2 separate regions of the Homo sapiens genome follow, and region 1 is linked to region 2. The links are contacts of gene promoters, found by promoter capture Hi-C in blood cells and fetal thymus (Javierre and others, 2016). All regions are on one chromosome and are shown on one strand. The core of a region is centred on a gene start or on the middle of the fragment in contact, and the rest is flanking DNA. Distances in the headings are between cores, read along the strand shown.

What was found. The method cuts DNA at HindIII sites, captures the fragments that hold promoters and counts their contacts. A CHiCAGO score of 5 or more calls a contact.
Region 1: a contact is called between a fragment that was not itself captured here and the fragment with the promoter of SELPLG in region 2, in 1 of 17 cell types (total B cells). The highest score is 5.8, in total B cells.

Annotation. Positions count from the first base shown.
Region 1 is chr12:113,057,679-113,064,736 of GRCh38, forward strand. It overlaps DTX1 (deltex E3 ubiquitin ligase 1), which reads left to right. Exons shown (of 10, transcript NM_004416.3): 2 at 1-773. The coding sequence starts at 515. Among named protein-coding and RNA genes, the nearest start is that of DTX1, 4.5 kb to the left of the region's middle. RefSeq lists an enhancer at 290-1,078. The HindIII fragment of the contact is 977 bases long and covers 4,448-5,424 here.
Region 2 is chr12:108,627,948-108,635,143 of GRCh38, forward strand. It overlaps SELPLG (selectin P ligand), which reads right to left and starts at 5,947. Exons shown (of 2, transcript NM_003006.4): 1 at 5,793-5,947. It overlaps LOC105369968 (a long non-coding RNA gene), which reads left to right and starts at 699. Exons shown (of 3, transcript XR_007063449.1): 1 at 699-802; 2 at 6,384-7,196. RefSeq lists enhancers at 3,861-4,010, 5,419-5,468 and a silencer at 6,709-6,758. The HindIII fragment of the contact is 5,781 bases long and covers 344-6,124 here.

The DNA of each region.
Region 1 (7,058 bases), core at 3,686-6,185, 4.4 Mb after region 2:
ACCGGAGGGAGGCGAGAAGCCCCACTGAAGCCGGGCGCAGGGTCTGGGACGCAGTTGGGAGTGCAAAGGGCTGGCTGAGAGCCGCAGGAGCAGCAGGCTGTGGCCCAGGCCTCCTGGGTGACAGGCCCTGTCTGGCGGGGAAGAGGGACCAAGAGACAACACGGAAGAGGCTGGACCTCGAACAGGGGCGGCTGCCTCACTCCCTACCTGAGCCAGCCGAGGGGGCCAAGGACTTTAGAGCTGTTTCCTCCGGCATAAGAGAGACACTTGCTTTCCAGGGCAGCACCCTTTATCGGAGAAGGCTCTACAGGGAAGGGGTCTTTGCAGCCTGGATGGCCATCCCACATTCCTTTAACGGAGGTCTCTAGGCCTCAGAGAGAACCCAGAGTTAGAAAGGAGGCCAGACGGTCCTTGCTGTCCCCCTGGGGAGAGAGGAAGTTGCCGCCTGCTGCCAGGCCCAGGAGGAGCTGGGCCTGCAATAGTGGGGGACCTGGCCCCTGAGGCAGTGGCGGCCATGTCACGGCCAGGCCACGGTGGGCTGATGCCTGTGAATGGTCTGGGCTTCCCACCGCAGAACGTGGCCCGGGTGGTGGTGTGGGAGTGGCTGAATGAGCACAGCCGCTGGCGGCCCTACACGGCCACCGTGTGCCACCACATTGAGAACGTGCTGAAGGAGGACGCTCGCGGTTCCGTGGTCCTGGGGCAGGTGGACGCCCAGCTTGTGCCCTACATCATCGACCTGCAGTCCATGCACCAGTTTCGCCAGGACACAGGTGAGCAGACACCCACCCCATGCCACCCGCCCCGCCGAGCCATCACTACCTTGCAGCGTAGGATGCTGAAAATCCCAGTAAATCTGCTGATGCCAAATCCCTTCCCCATCTCCCTGCCTCACCTCCAGAAAAACAGGGCAGTCTAACCTTGTCCAGTTTAAGACTTGGATTCCAATGCAGCCTCTGAGCAAGCTGTAGGGCCTTGAGCAAGTTGCATCATCTCTCTGAGCCTCAGTTTCCTCATCTGCAAAATGGGTAGATCAATATCTCTCACAGCTGAGTGAGGATTAAATAAAATTGTGCTCACTGAGCACAGAACCTAGAACAGCAGTAGCATGGGATTGTAGAATAAGGGCTTTACATGCACTTCCTCATTTGATTTTTCCCAAGAATCACAGGCAGTAAGTCTGTGTATTGTTGTATTATTATGAGTCCCATTTTATAGATGAAGAAACCGAGTCTCCCAGAAGCTGAGTGATTTAAACTCAGAGCTGGGATTTAAACCCAGGCGGTTGAGTTCCAGAACCAAAGTTCTTAACTGGTATCCTATACTGGCTCCAAGTGTTGGTTTGTGGGGTGGAGTCGTGCTGGTGGTAATTAATTGGGGATGGGGGGCGTTGGTGGTGTTGATGGTGGGGTGAGGTGGCAATGATGGAGGAGACAGTGTTAGCGGTTGTGTTGGTGGTGACTCAGTGATAGTATTGATGGTGGTGGGGTCTTGGTGACAATGGAGGGATGGATGATGGTGACGTGGCAGTGTTGGTGGTGATGTCAGTGATAGCGTTAACCATGGGATTCAGTGGTGTTGGTGACATTGATAGTTGTGTTGGTGGTGGTGCTGGAAGTGGTGTGATGGGGTGGTGATGATGGAGAAAATGAGAGAATGATGTTGGTGGCAGTCTTCGTGGCCATGTGGTGTGGCTGGTAGCCCTGTGTGTGGCTGTTACTTAGTGGTATTGGTGATCCTGTTGTGGTTGTAATGATGGTGATGTTGATGGTTGCGTTGGTGGTAATGTGATGGCTGATGATGGAGATAAAATCGATGAGGTCCCACTCTCAGGCCTACTCTCTTTTGTTCTGGAGATTTGTCATCGTTGGGGAGATCTCCCTGAGTCATTGCCCGGTGGTATCTGTGACAAGCTCCATGGGCAGTGGGGACTGGTGGGGTCCTGCCGTGCAGAAGCAGCCTAGAAATCCTTGGCATGTTTGACCCCCCAAGGACCAGCTGATGGGGTTTGGGGAAGTTCCTATGAATCCCTGGATGACAGAACCACACGTAATAACCCCAGGCTGGTAGGATGCTCGCTTTCCCTCTAGAGCTGTGCCAACCAATATGTTAGCCACCAACCACATGTGGCTACTTAAATTTACATTAATTAAAACTAAGTAAAATGTAAAATCCAGTTCTTCAGTCTCACTAGCCACACTTCAAGTGCTCATAGCCACATGTGTCTTGTGGTACCTTGTGGGCCAGTGTAGATCCAGAACATTGCATTGTTGCAGAAAGTTCTATTACACCATGCTAGTTAGAAAGGAGGCCAGCCTTTCTAACTAGCACAGTCCAATATAAGTTTCTGCAATGATTGAACTTTCCAATAGTCCGGAACATTGCTAGGTACCCACAGAGTGCTTACCATGTCTGGAAACACAGGCGAATTCATAACAAATGGCTTATTGATGGTACAGATTAGTACATCTATGTTTCCGTAACTCCAGGCATTGACCACCATCACTGATGGTGCCAATTGTTCATGCATTCCATCATATGATTATTTATTGATCTCTGCTGTGTGTCAATTTCTGTGCTAAGCACTGGAGTACAGCAGGGAGCAAGACAAAGTCATCAGTCGAGGTCTTGTGCTGGAGGACCTACACTGAAGGTCCTGGTGTGGTCAGGGAGCAAGCAAACATATCACCACAGAGACAATCAGTGGCAGATCCGAGAGCATGAACTAAACCTGGCCCAGAGGTACTCAGGGAAGGCTAGCCTGAGAAAGTGATGTTTGAACAGAGATCTGAAGAATGAGTGAGGGTGCCAGTGTCCCAGGCAGAGGGCACAGCCAGTGCAAAGGCCCTGGGGTAGGAAGGGGCAGAGGACATTTAAGTCCGTTCTGTTTGGGATGCATCTCCCACCAAGGGGAAGATGGTGCAAGATGGCAGCTGAGCAAGGACCGGATGTACAGGCCTGGACAGCCACGCAAAGAACTTTGAATTTGATCCAGAGAGTAGAAGTCATCATTAGCTCCATGTGCCCATTCTTCCAGAGAGGCACCAAGGACCTGATGGAAGAAGGGGAAGTGTTGCACATTACCCGCCCCATTCTGTTTTCTCCTAGGGGTAGAGGGCAGGGCTGTGAGAGCAGAAGTGGGTAGGTGTCACTCCTTGCTAGGAGGTCTGGTGTTCTGCAGGTTCAGAGCTAATGCTGGGTGTAGAGATCTTCCGGGACCTAGCTGGGTTGGGTATGGGCGGCAGGGTCCTTAGAAGCAGGGACAGACTCCCCACAAGGCTGCCAAGTTGGCAACTTTACCTTTGATCCTCTTATCTTTGGGGGGACCCCCATTTCTATTCCCAGCATCCCCTTATGTTCCCGAGTCCCCAGACTTGCACACTCCCCTTTCATCAGGCCCCATTCTCTCAATAGTACCCCTTTTATGGTTCAGCCTCACTGGATCCCCCAGAAGTTCAGCTCTGGTCACTTCCCCTCTCCCTCTCTCCAGAGCTGTTCACTCCACACCTGCCCCCTGTTTGCCGGAAAAGGGAAAAAAAACACTCATTCCTAAATGGACTCCTGGGAGCCTGCCAGGAACCCCCTCCCACCCCAACCAGAGAGGGAGGAAGGCCTGGAAACCTATTGCGATTGGCAGGAGACCTCAGCTGCCTGGGAACCTGCTGGAGAGTGGGGCAAGAGGCCTCCTCACCAGATATGTGAGGGTTTTTCCCTCGCTTTACCCAGGAGCAAAACAATGTCAAGAAAGGACGTCTTGTCCTCATTGGTAACGCACTGGAAAAGAGCCTCAACCGGCAGGGAGCAGACCTGAGTGCCAACGGTGTGACCTCAGGCCTCTCCAGGTCTCAGTTTCCACATCCGTGAAATGGGTGAGAGGATCACCTCTCCAGCAGGGTTGTCGGGTTGAACAGAGAGAATCTGGCTGATTTTATCCCACAAACATCAACTAATTATCTACTGTGCATCTAGCACGTGCTCACCACTGTGGGTACAAGAGAGACAAGCAAAAGATCTTAAATCTTTTTTTTTTCTTCTTTTTTTGAGACAGTGTCTCACTCTGTCTCCCAGGCTAGAGTACAGTGGTGTGATGTCGGCTCACTGCAGCCTCTTTCCCCGGGTTCAAGTGATTCTCGTGCCTCAACCTCCCAAGTAGCTGGCATTACAGGCAAGCTACCACATACCACACCCGGCTAATTTTTGTATTTTTAGTAGAGATGGGGTTTTACCCTGTTGGCCAAGCTGGTCTTGAACTCCTGGCCTCAAGTGAGCCGCCCGCCTCGGCCTCCCAAAGTGCTGGGATTACAAGCGTGAGCCACTGTGCCTGGCTGTGAATCTTGAAAATATTATATTTCATACACACACACACACACACACACACACACACACACACACTCCAACATAATGCTGTAAAACCCAAAACTCATGTGTATGTGCTGAAATCAACACAAGCTTCTGTCTAGATTTTCTAATTGTAAAATTCTTGATATGTTCATTGAAGCTGAACTTGAACTTTGAGGGGAGACTGCCCTAGCTTTGCTAGTTTCCCAATGCAGGAGCTGGCTGATTTTTTTCTAATAGCATCAGATAATAAATCTTTTAACTTTGTGGGACCTGCAGTCTCTGTTGTAACTATTCAACTCTATCGGAGCAGAAAAGCAGCATAGACAATATGTAAGTGAATGCGTGTGGCTGTGTTCTAATCAAACTAGTTGTGGACACAGAAATTTGAATTTCATATCTTTTTCACGGGTCATGAAATATTCTTTTTTTTCCCCCAACCATTTAAAAATGTAAAAGCCATTCTTACTTCCTGAGCTGCACGATAGCAGATGGTGGGTGGATTTGGCCTGTGTGCTGCAGGTTCACTGACCCCTGCCCCACATGTTCTGAACCTGAGCATGGGGTAAGACCGTGCTGGTGCCACAGGACACCCAGCATGGCTTATCCACCCCTTGTGGTGTGTACCAAGGTACACGTGCGTGTGCGTACACACACACAGCACCAGTCTGCTCGCACAATGCCGACACACACATGCCCTGTGTATGTGCCTCCCGTGCAGTGCAGCCAGCGGAAGAAAGCCCCGGTGTCAGGCTGGGGCCACAGGGGAGAAGCCAGGCTCTGGCCCCACAGGGGCTGCGGTTTGTTCAGCCGTGCCCCCTCACCTTTCCCCTGCTGGGCTGTTTTCACTGCTCCCTGCAGGGGGTGAGGTTCCCTTTGAAGCCCTCCAGGTCCAGAGCCCAGAGTCTGGACTGGAAACTGGAGCCCCTCCACGGGGAGGCCTAATGCTGTGACCCTGAGCTGGATGATGTTAGATCAATCACGGTGGTGTCCCAGGCAGAGGGTTGGAGGGAGAGTCAGAGCTGGGCGAGGGATGGGTCGCTTGCTCGCTTCGCAGTACTGAGCCAAGTGCCCGGTTTCCCTCAAAGCTTTCTTTCTTCATTTCCCTCTGTCTCCAACCGTCCCTCCCACAGACAAAGATTGCCACATATGGGAAGCCCAAGGCCGAAGGGTATGCTCAGCTGGTGGCTGGGCTGGGCCCAGGAGCCATCAGGGTCTTGGGGTGAGGGGGTTGGCTGCCACTGGCAGTCGGGGAAAGGTTTGAGAATGGCTTTCTGCTCCCAGAGAAGAAGCCACATCTTCCCTGGGGGGTCATTTACATCCCCTGCCACTGGGACAGCCGCCTCCGAGGGCCTCACCCAGACCCTGAATTTCCCACCCAGTTCACACAGCTGGACAGAGGTGTAACTCAGCCACTTCCGCAGAAGCTCCCAGCTCGCTCCCTGGCCTCATATGACTGGAGCTGGGGAGGGGCACCTATCTGCCTGGTATCTCCCATGTCGCTCTCCATGTGCTGCTGGAGGGGTGCATGGCAGCCTCCTGCCCCTTCTGCTGATGGGATAGCTGAGGCCGAGGGATGCCAGCTGGGGACCATCCAAAGATGCCATACCCGAGGCTGCAAGCCTGGCCTTTTCTGGTGCCCCCAAGCTGGCCAACAGGCTGGAGTGGCAGGTGGTGGCTGGTTCTGGGATCTTCCAGCCTGCCTCCTTCCCTGGAAACCTTGGGCTTCACTCAGCCCTGGTCCCTGCCATGAGAGGAAGCACTATCTGAGGACACTTAGGCTGGAGACCCTTAGGCTGTTACCACCCAGATGGGAGGAGCTTTTCCCATCACCGGGGAAAACACCTCCAGAATTAGACACCAACTGGGGACAGTGAGGCCCAGAGAGGGTGAGTGACTTCCCCAAGGTCACACAGCCTACCAGTCCTAAGCTAGAGCCCAGGCCCCCCAGACAGGCCTTAGGGATAGAAAACAAGGTGACATTTAATGCCAGGGCTGAGAGAACCCCTTCCCCCTTCCCCCTTCTCCCTTGAGAGCGCTCTTGGGGCTTGTTGTCAGGGTCTAGCCCAAGGCAGGGACAGCCTGCACTACCCTGGAGGCCTCCAGGGCTCAGCTCCTGGTTACAGGACCCTTTGGGACCCTCTCTCCAGCCTCCTCACTGGAGACTAGGGCTGGGCCTGATGCCAGGGGCAAGAAAGACTATGTGTAGGGGCAGGGAGCGGCCCATCTCTGGTAGCAGCAGGTCCAGCTAATCCATATGTGGGTGCTCCCCAACCACCAGTCACGCTGTCTGTATTTCTACTATTGCAGACCCATGGTCTCTGGCTGCTTGGCTAACTCCAGAAGCCTGTTTTGAAACTAAATTCATCGCTCGTATTTGGTAGTCATTGGTGGCTTCTCAGTACCAGGTCCTGGGCTGGGTCTTGGGGACTCAGAGAGAAGGGCAAAATCCATTTCAGAGTCTAATCTATCCATTTCAGATCAGTTTCAGAGTCTAGTGAAGGTGAAGGCAAATGCATATCATGGAAATAGCCTTTGAACCCTCTGACTCATAAGGACAACAGATACAGACCTAAAACCCAGCTTGGCCCCTTGCTGGCTGTGTGACCATGGGCAAATTCCTTAACGTCTCTGAGTTTATTTCCTCCTCTGTAAAATGGGGATAAGAATAGTCCCTAGCTGGGAGGGTTGTCATGAGGACATAATGAGATACATAAATG
Region 2 (7,196 bases), core at 4,697-7,196:
TGTGCCCCTGTAGTCCCAGCTACTCAGGAGGCGGAGATGGGAGAATTGCTTGAGCCTGGAGAGATTGAGGCTGCAGTGAGCTGTGATCATGCCACTGCACCCCAGCCTGGGTGACAAAGCAAGACCCTGCCTCAAAAATAAAATAAAAAAATTTTAAATAGAAAAATTAGCCAGGCATGATGATGCACACCTATCGTCTCAGCTACTGGGGAGGCTAATGTGGGAGGATCGCTTAAGCCTGGAAGGTTGAGACTGCAGTGAGCCGAGATTGTACCACTGCACTCCAGCCTGGGCGACAGAGTGAGACCCTGTCTCAAAACAAAACAAGAAAACAAAAGTTCCAAGCTTACAGTAGGTGCTTAATAAATGTAACACACACACACACACACACACACACACACACACACACACACACACTTTTGCCTCCCAATTTGCCTTCAGGGCAGCAGAATTTCTTTGGGGTAGAGTTCTTATCTGGGGGAAGAATCTACGGCCCAACCTTGGCCCCACTTTCCTGGAGGCAGGGACTTTAGGAAGAAGCCATTAGCCTAGAGACATATTTCATACTTATGAGCACACTCACAGCTACCAACCCCCACTTGGGCAGTTCTCTGTTCCTGGAAGGCAAAGCCCTCAGCCACTTCCTGGAAGCAGAGAAGGTGGGGGCAAAGTTGCAAGGCCTGGTCTCCCTGGTTCCCGGGTTGGGGGAGGCATCTTGGTGAGTCAGGGCCGGACTTGCAGCAGGCCGGAGGCTGGGAGAATAACACAGAAACACGGAGGGTGCTGGGGCCCAGTTCTTCAGGTAGGCTGTCACTGTTGCCCACCCTTCCCCTACAGCCATCCCCACAGCCTCCTGCACCCAGAGACAGCTGGGGTGGAGGAGAGGCTGGGGCCTGAATCCCACATTTGCCCCCACTTAGCGGCTGTGTAAACTCGGGCAGGTTGCTTCACCCTCTCTAAGCCTCAGTTTCCTCATTGTAAAACCGGCAATATTGCTTAAAAAAAATCATCATGAGAATTGAATGAGTGTATGGAAGTTCCCAGACGCTGGCTTCCAGCCGGGGGTACTTTATCTGGAGGACTCTCTTCGGCGCTGCAGGCAGATGAGCAGAGGAAATGGAGGTCTCAGACTCAGAGGGTATGGAGATGGCGGCCTCTCTACCTCCCCTGTGGGTGTTTGGGCTTTGAGAAAGCAGAGACCTCCGTACCTGTTATGATAAGACCTGGTACATTCGGAAAGCCCAGACCTCCTTTCCTGGGCCCGTCTAAAGCAACCACCTTATCCTACATGTTCCTGGTGTCAGTGCTGAAAGTCCCTCAACCCCAGAAACCCCTCACTCCCAGGCAAACTGGGGGTGGGGGGTTGTTGGTCACCCCAGCCTGGTCCCTGCCATCCCACTGGCTTTAAGACACAGCAGCCTGGAGCCAGGCCACAGCTGAGCAGGCATCAGCCCATCTAACAGAAAGAAAATCTGAGGCTCAGCCAGGCACGGTGCCTCGAGCTTGTACTCCTAGCACTTTGGGAGGCCAAGGCAGGAGGATGACTTGAAGGCAGGGGTTCAAGACCAGCCTGGGCAACATACTGAGACCCATATCTACAAAAAAATTAAAAATTAGCCAGGTATGCTGGTGATGCCTGTAGTCCCAGCTACTCGGGAGGCTGAGGCCAGAGGATGGCTTGAGCCCAGGTCAAGGCTGCAGTGAGCTATGATCGCACCACTGCACTCCAGCCTGGGTGACAGAGTAAGACCCTGTCTCTAAGAAAAAAACATATTTTTTTTAATGAAAGAAAAGAAAACCCGAGGCTCTGAGAGATCTTGTCTCAGCTGAGGCCACACAGGTAGAAGGGGGAGGAGCTGAGTTTTCTCACCGTGTATGGCAGGTAGCATAATACCTCCTTAATATTTGCTACAGTAAATGTATTATACAACAATAAAAATGACATATGTGGAAGCCCCTCCCACGGAGGGATGATTTCATCCTCTCACTATCTGGTGACCTCATTCCTCCTCACCCCTGTGTTCACTGGCTCTAACGGTGCCATCACACTGATTAGCAAGCAAGGCCCGGAGCGGCGGGATCACTCCCAGGCCCCACCTTCCACCTCTCCTCTTCCTGGAAGGCCAAAAAACAGTCCCACAGAAGTGGGGCCAGGGCAGGGCTCCGACAGAGGCGTCTCCAGTGACCACGTCCTATTTGTCTCAACACTTGCCTAACAGAGTAGGTCAGAGACTGCTCGTTTGCCTCTTTCGCCCTAAAACCAGGCTGCTTCTGGCCCAGGCCCCATCTAGACCCCATATGGGCCCCATCTAGGCTGTGTGGAGGAGCAGGCTGCAGGGGGCCCAGACTCCAGCTCCAGAGAACCCGCCGTGTGGCCGCCCTGAGCTGCTCAGGAAAGATCCTCGTGGGGCTCCACGCCGCTAGGAACCTTGCACTGAGAATCCTGAAACTGGTGGTCAGAGCGGGCAGGATCTTGGAATGCTAAAATTCAAAAGACTGAGCATCTCAGGGTTTGGGTCAAGTAGTCACCAAGAGAAGGAAAGACCCCAGATAACTGAGGCACAGGCAGCAGATCTAAGTCTGGGTAGACAGGACAGGCCCTGCCCTGCCCTGCTGTGCCCTGGGAGTCACATCAAACCAGGTCAATCCCCAGCTCTGTCCCTTAGAAGCTGTGTGACCTGGGGCAACTCACCTCACCTCTCTGAGCTGTGGGTTCCTTAGCTGGAATACAAGGACAATGGTAGCACCCGCTTTTTATGGGGTTGTTGTGGGTTGAAGAGGGCCAGGGAAATGCTGAGTCCTCCCAGAAGCCTTTCCAGATTGCCCCAGGCACGATTAGTCACCTCCCGTGTTTAAATCATTTCTGCTGTTCATTTATTTTCTAAAAATGTATTCACATTGACTCCTAAACTTCCAGAAGGCAGGAACCACAGCTGTCTTGCTGATCAGGCCACAGGCCCAGGATTCAGCCGATGGGCAGGCACACACCCCTCGCAACACTCGCCCCAGTGGCTGGCAACCACTGTGGCTGTCTGCTCTGCTGCCCCCACCAGACCACAAGTTTTTGGAGGGCAGGAGCTCTCCTGGGTCTCCTGGCATCCCCAGGGGCCTCACTAAATGCCTCTGCAGAAGAGGACATGTGACTGAGGCAGGGGAACGTGCACAGAACTGCACAGCACGTGCTGTCTTCACACTTTTCACACCACATTTGCCAGCTGACACTTTGCAACCTCTTTCCGTCATCTACCTCAACTCACATCAGGGAGTCTCTGTAGACATTTTTTCCCACTTATCATCGCCCTTATGAAAGGTTTATTTATTTATTTAATTTTAGAGATAGGGTCTTTCTCTGTTGCCCAGGCTCGACTACAGTGGTGCAATCATAGCTCACTGCAGGCTTGAACTCCTGGGCTCAAGCGATCCTCCCAAGTAGCTAGGACTACAGGTGCATGCCACCAGACCCGGCTACTTTTAAATTTTTTGTAGAGATGGGTTTTCCCCATGTTGCCCAGGTTGGTCTCAAACTCCTGGGCTCAAGCAATCCATCTGCTTCAGCCTCCCAAAGTGCTGGGATTTATAGGCATGAGCCACGGTGACCAGCCCTCCTCATGAAAAGTTAATAGCACAGATATGCTGTATATCTGTTTAATGTTTGGTGGCTTGCAAACCACAGTGTTAGTTGAGATTTTTTTGTTACACCCCCCTCCCTACCCTCCACCCCACCAAGAACCAAGTTACACCTGTTGGAACCCAAACTTGCTGGCCTGATCCAGAGGCAGTAAGGTACTTGGCACAAATGAATTCAATGAGACCTACATCTGGTTAGTTGAACAACTGTCTTTAAACAGTTTTCTAAACACCCCTGTGTAGACAGACAGATTAACAAACACAGACCCCCAACACACACACACCAGCCATCTTATCTCCTTCTAGACCACTGGCCCCCACTGCCATCTTCCTGTTCAAGTTCAGCAAAGGAAGCCGAGACACAGGCCTAGGGTCACCACGAACTCCATGGGCATCCTGCAGCCAGAAGCCATGCCGCCAGAGGCAGCTGCTTCTCCCCTTCAAGCCTCAGTTTTCTCATCTGTAAAAGGGGCACTGTCCACCCTCCAAGGTTCTCGGATGATTGATTCCCCAGCTCCTCTGAATGCCCCACTCTGGGCCCAGCCTAGCAACCCAGCCCTTCCGCTCTCTGAGGTTTAACTCCCCTGGCTGCTGGCCAAGCCTGCTGAGGGAGGCATCAACCACCCAGGGCACGGCCTCGGAAGAGACTCTGGGGCTGTCTGAGGGCCTGGGAGCCACCTTCTGAGGCCCCGGCCCACTGAGGGGCCTGGCTCTGGGGGCCTCAAAGTCAGAGATGGAAAAAAAAGGAAAACAGAAGAAAGAGGAAAGAGGAAGAGAATTCCAGGCAACAGAAGCCCAGATATCGACAATATGGGGTGTGTGTGTGTGTGTGTGTGTGTGTGTGTGTGTGTGTGAATGTGTGTACAGCAGGGCACAACTGGCCCCCACCATTTCCTTTTAGTGTCCTGAAAGTATCTCAAATACAAACTAATAAGAGTATTCTAATTTTTTTTTTTTTGAGACAGGGTCTCACTCTGCCACCCGGGTTGGAGTGCAGTGGCACAATCTCGGCTTACTGCGACCTCCCCCTCCCAGGTTCAAGTGATCCTCCCACCTCAGCCTCCCAAGTAGCTGAGACCACAGGCATACACCACTACACCTAGCTAAGTTTTTGTATTTTTGGTAGAGACGAGGTTTCACCATGTTGCCCAGGTTGGTCTAGAACTCCTGAGCTCAGGCCAACCACCTGCCTCGGCCTCCCAAAGGGCTGGGATTACAGGTGTAAGCCACTGCACCCAGCCAAATATTCTAATTATTATTATTATTATTGTTTTCCCTTTTGCTAACAATAGTATCTTAATTCTAATATTTTAATAGTTTGCCACAGACAAGTGTCATTTCCTCAGTCTTATAAAAAGTGGGAAGAATGCATCTTTCTCTGAAAAGAACTTTTTTATGCGTCCATAACATGCAGCTTCAAGAGAAATCCTGCACTCCCCCTACTTTCTGGAGTCTTCCAGACCTAATCTCAGCTCTGCCCCTAAACAAATCCCTTCACCTCTCCCGACCTCAGTTTCCCATCCAGGAAAGGAGAGGATAAGATCATTTCTAGGGAAACACTCATGGTTTCTCTGATTTTCAAAATCAGAATGCCGCCAAGCCAGACGCTGCAGGCAAACTGGCCAGGGAGGGAAGTAAGTTAATGGGAGGCTGGGGCTGGTGGGTCACACCTGTAATTTCAGCACTTTGGGAGGCCAACGCAAGAGGCTTGAGGCCAGGAGTTTGAGACCAGCCTCGGCATCAAAGTGAGACCCCATCTCTAGGAAAGGTAAAAATATTAGCTGCATGCGGCGATGTGCGCCTGTAGTCCCAGCTACTCAGGAGGCTGAGGTGGGAGGATCACTTGTGCCCAGGAGTTTAAGGCTGCAGTGAGCCATGATTGTGCCACTGCACTCCAGCCTGGGTGACAGAGTAAGACCCTGTCTCAAAAAAAGAAGGAAAAAAAAAGTTGGCAGGAGCAGGATTCAGAAGAGTCACAGAATAAGGCCACAGACTCCAGGAAGACTTTAGTCTTGAGTCGGAGGAGCCTCAGTTTGCCCTCCCCAGGTGCTGCAGCTCAAGAAGGGCCTGGCGGTCCTACCCGGGCCTGCCAGCAGCTATAAGGCAGGCCCTTGGCCCATGGGGACCTCCAGCCACTCCCTGTGGTTTTGCAAGCCAGCACTTACCACCGTGCTCAGCAGAGCATGGGACAGCTGCCTCGTGGGCCCAGAAGAAGTGGCTTCTCTGCTTTAGTGACAAGGTCCCAGCCCACGCTGCCAGGCACTGCTGTGGCACCCCCTGCGGCAGTCCCGGATCCGAGCAACCCCCAATGGCTGTGTGTGGAAGGAGGAAGCGAGAATGTGGTTACTTAGGCAGGGCCATGTGACAGCCCACACCCCATTGTTTGTGACAGCTTTGGTGACAACATTGATAAAGACAGGGTGGTAGTGGGGCACCTCCTAGGTCTGACACTGTTCTTGGGTTCCCATAACTGTGAAAACACTGAGAACCAAGTAGAAGCTTTCTGGGGAGAAGTTCTTCGGTTTTGGGTGGGGCCCAAACTGAGAAAGGCCACAGCATTACTTCAGCAGCAATGGACAGTCGGGGCCAGAGGGAGCCCCCTGAAGGACAGGAGTGACCAGAGAAAAAGGAGAATGGTCTCGCTTCTTGCCCAAGATTGGTGGGGCGTGGGGAGGGGTGGGAGGTGGTCAGGGAGCAAAAAACACAAAATATGAACCTTCAAAGGGTTTGCAAATATGGTGTATTTCTTCTCGCAGGACTCAAAACACTCTCTGTAGATGCACAGCACAGGCCCTTTCAGCTGCAACCAAGAGCCTCTCTAGGGAGCTGGACTACAGATACCACAAGGGCAAGTCCTGCTTATCTTATTTCTTCATCCTAAATTTGTTCATTTGACCAACTCTGGCACTCCAGACTGCATGCCCTGAGGTCTAAAGGCCAGCAATTCTGGGCTGTGGCCCTCTGGTAGCCCTCCATCCAATGGGGAGGCCAGCGAGTAAACAATTCGGTGGAACATCATGCCACAATGACACAGCGCAGTGAGTGCCATCCTGCGGTGAGCAAGGGAGGGGCCTCTCCTTCCATCCTGGGTGGGGGAGGGAGGTTAACAGGAGGAGCTTCCAAGAAGTGGCACTTGAGATGACAAGCCAGGTGGGCATCCCAGGCAGAGAGCACAGCAGAGGCAAAGGCTGGGAGGCCTAAGAATACCCAGACACTTCCAGAAGGGAGGGAATAGGGGGGTCTCCCAGGATCTGCCCTGCGGCTTTGCACCAGGCAAGGGCTCAGGACATGCACAGAAAGATACTCATATCTTGCCTTGCACAAAGTTGTTTTTTTTTTTTTTTTTTGAGATGGAGTTTCACTCTTTTTGCCCAGGCTGGAGTGCAATGGCACAATCTCGGCTCACCGCAACCTCCGCCTCCCGGGTTCAAGCTATTCTTCTGCCTCAGCCTCCCGAGTATCTGGGATTACAGGCATGTGCCACCACCCCGGCTAATTTTGTATTTATAGTAGAGATGGGGTTTCTCCACGTTTGTCAGGCTGGTTGGTCTTGAACTCTCGACCTCAGG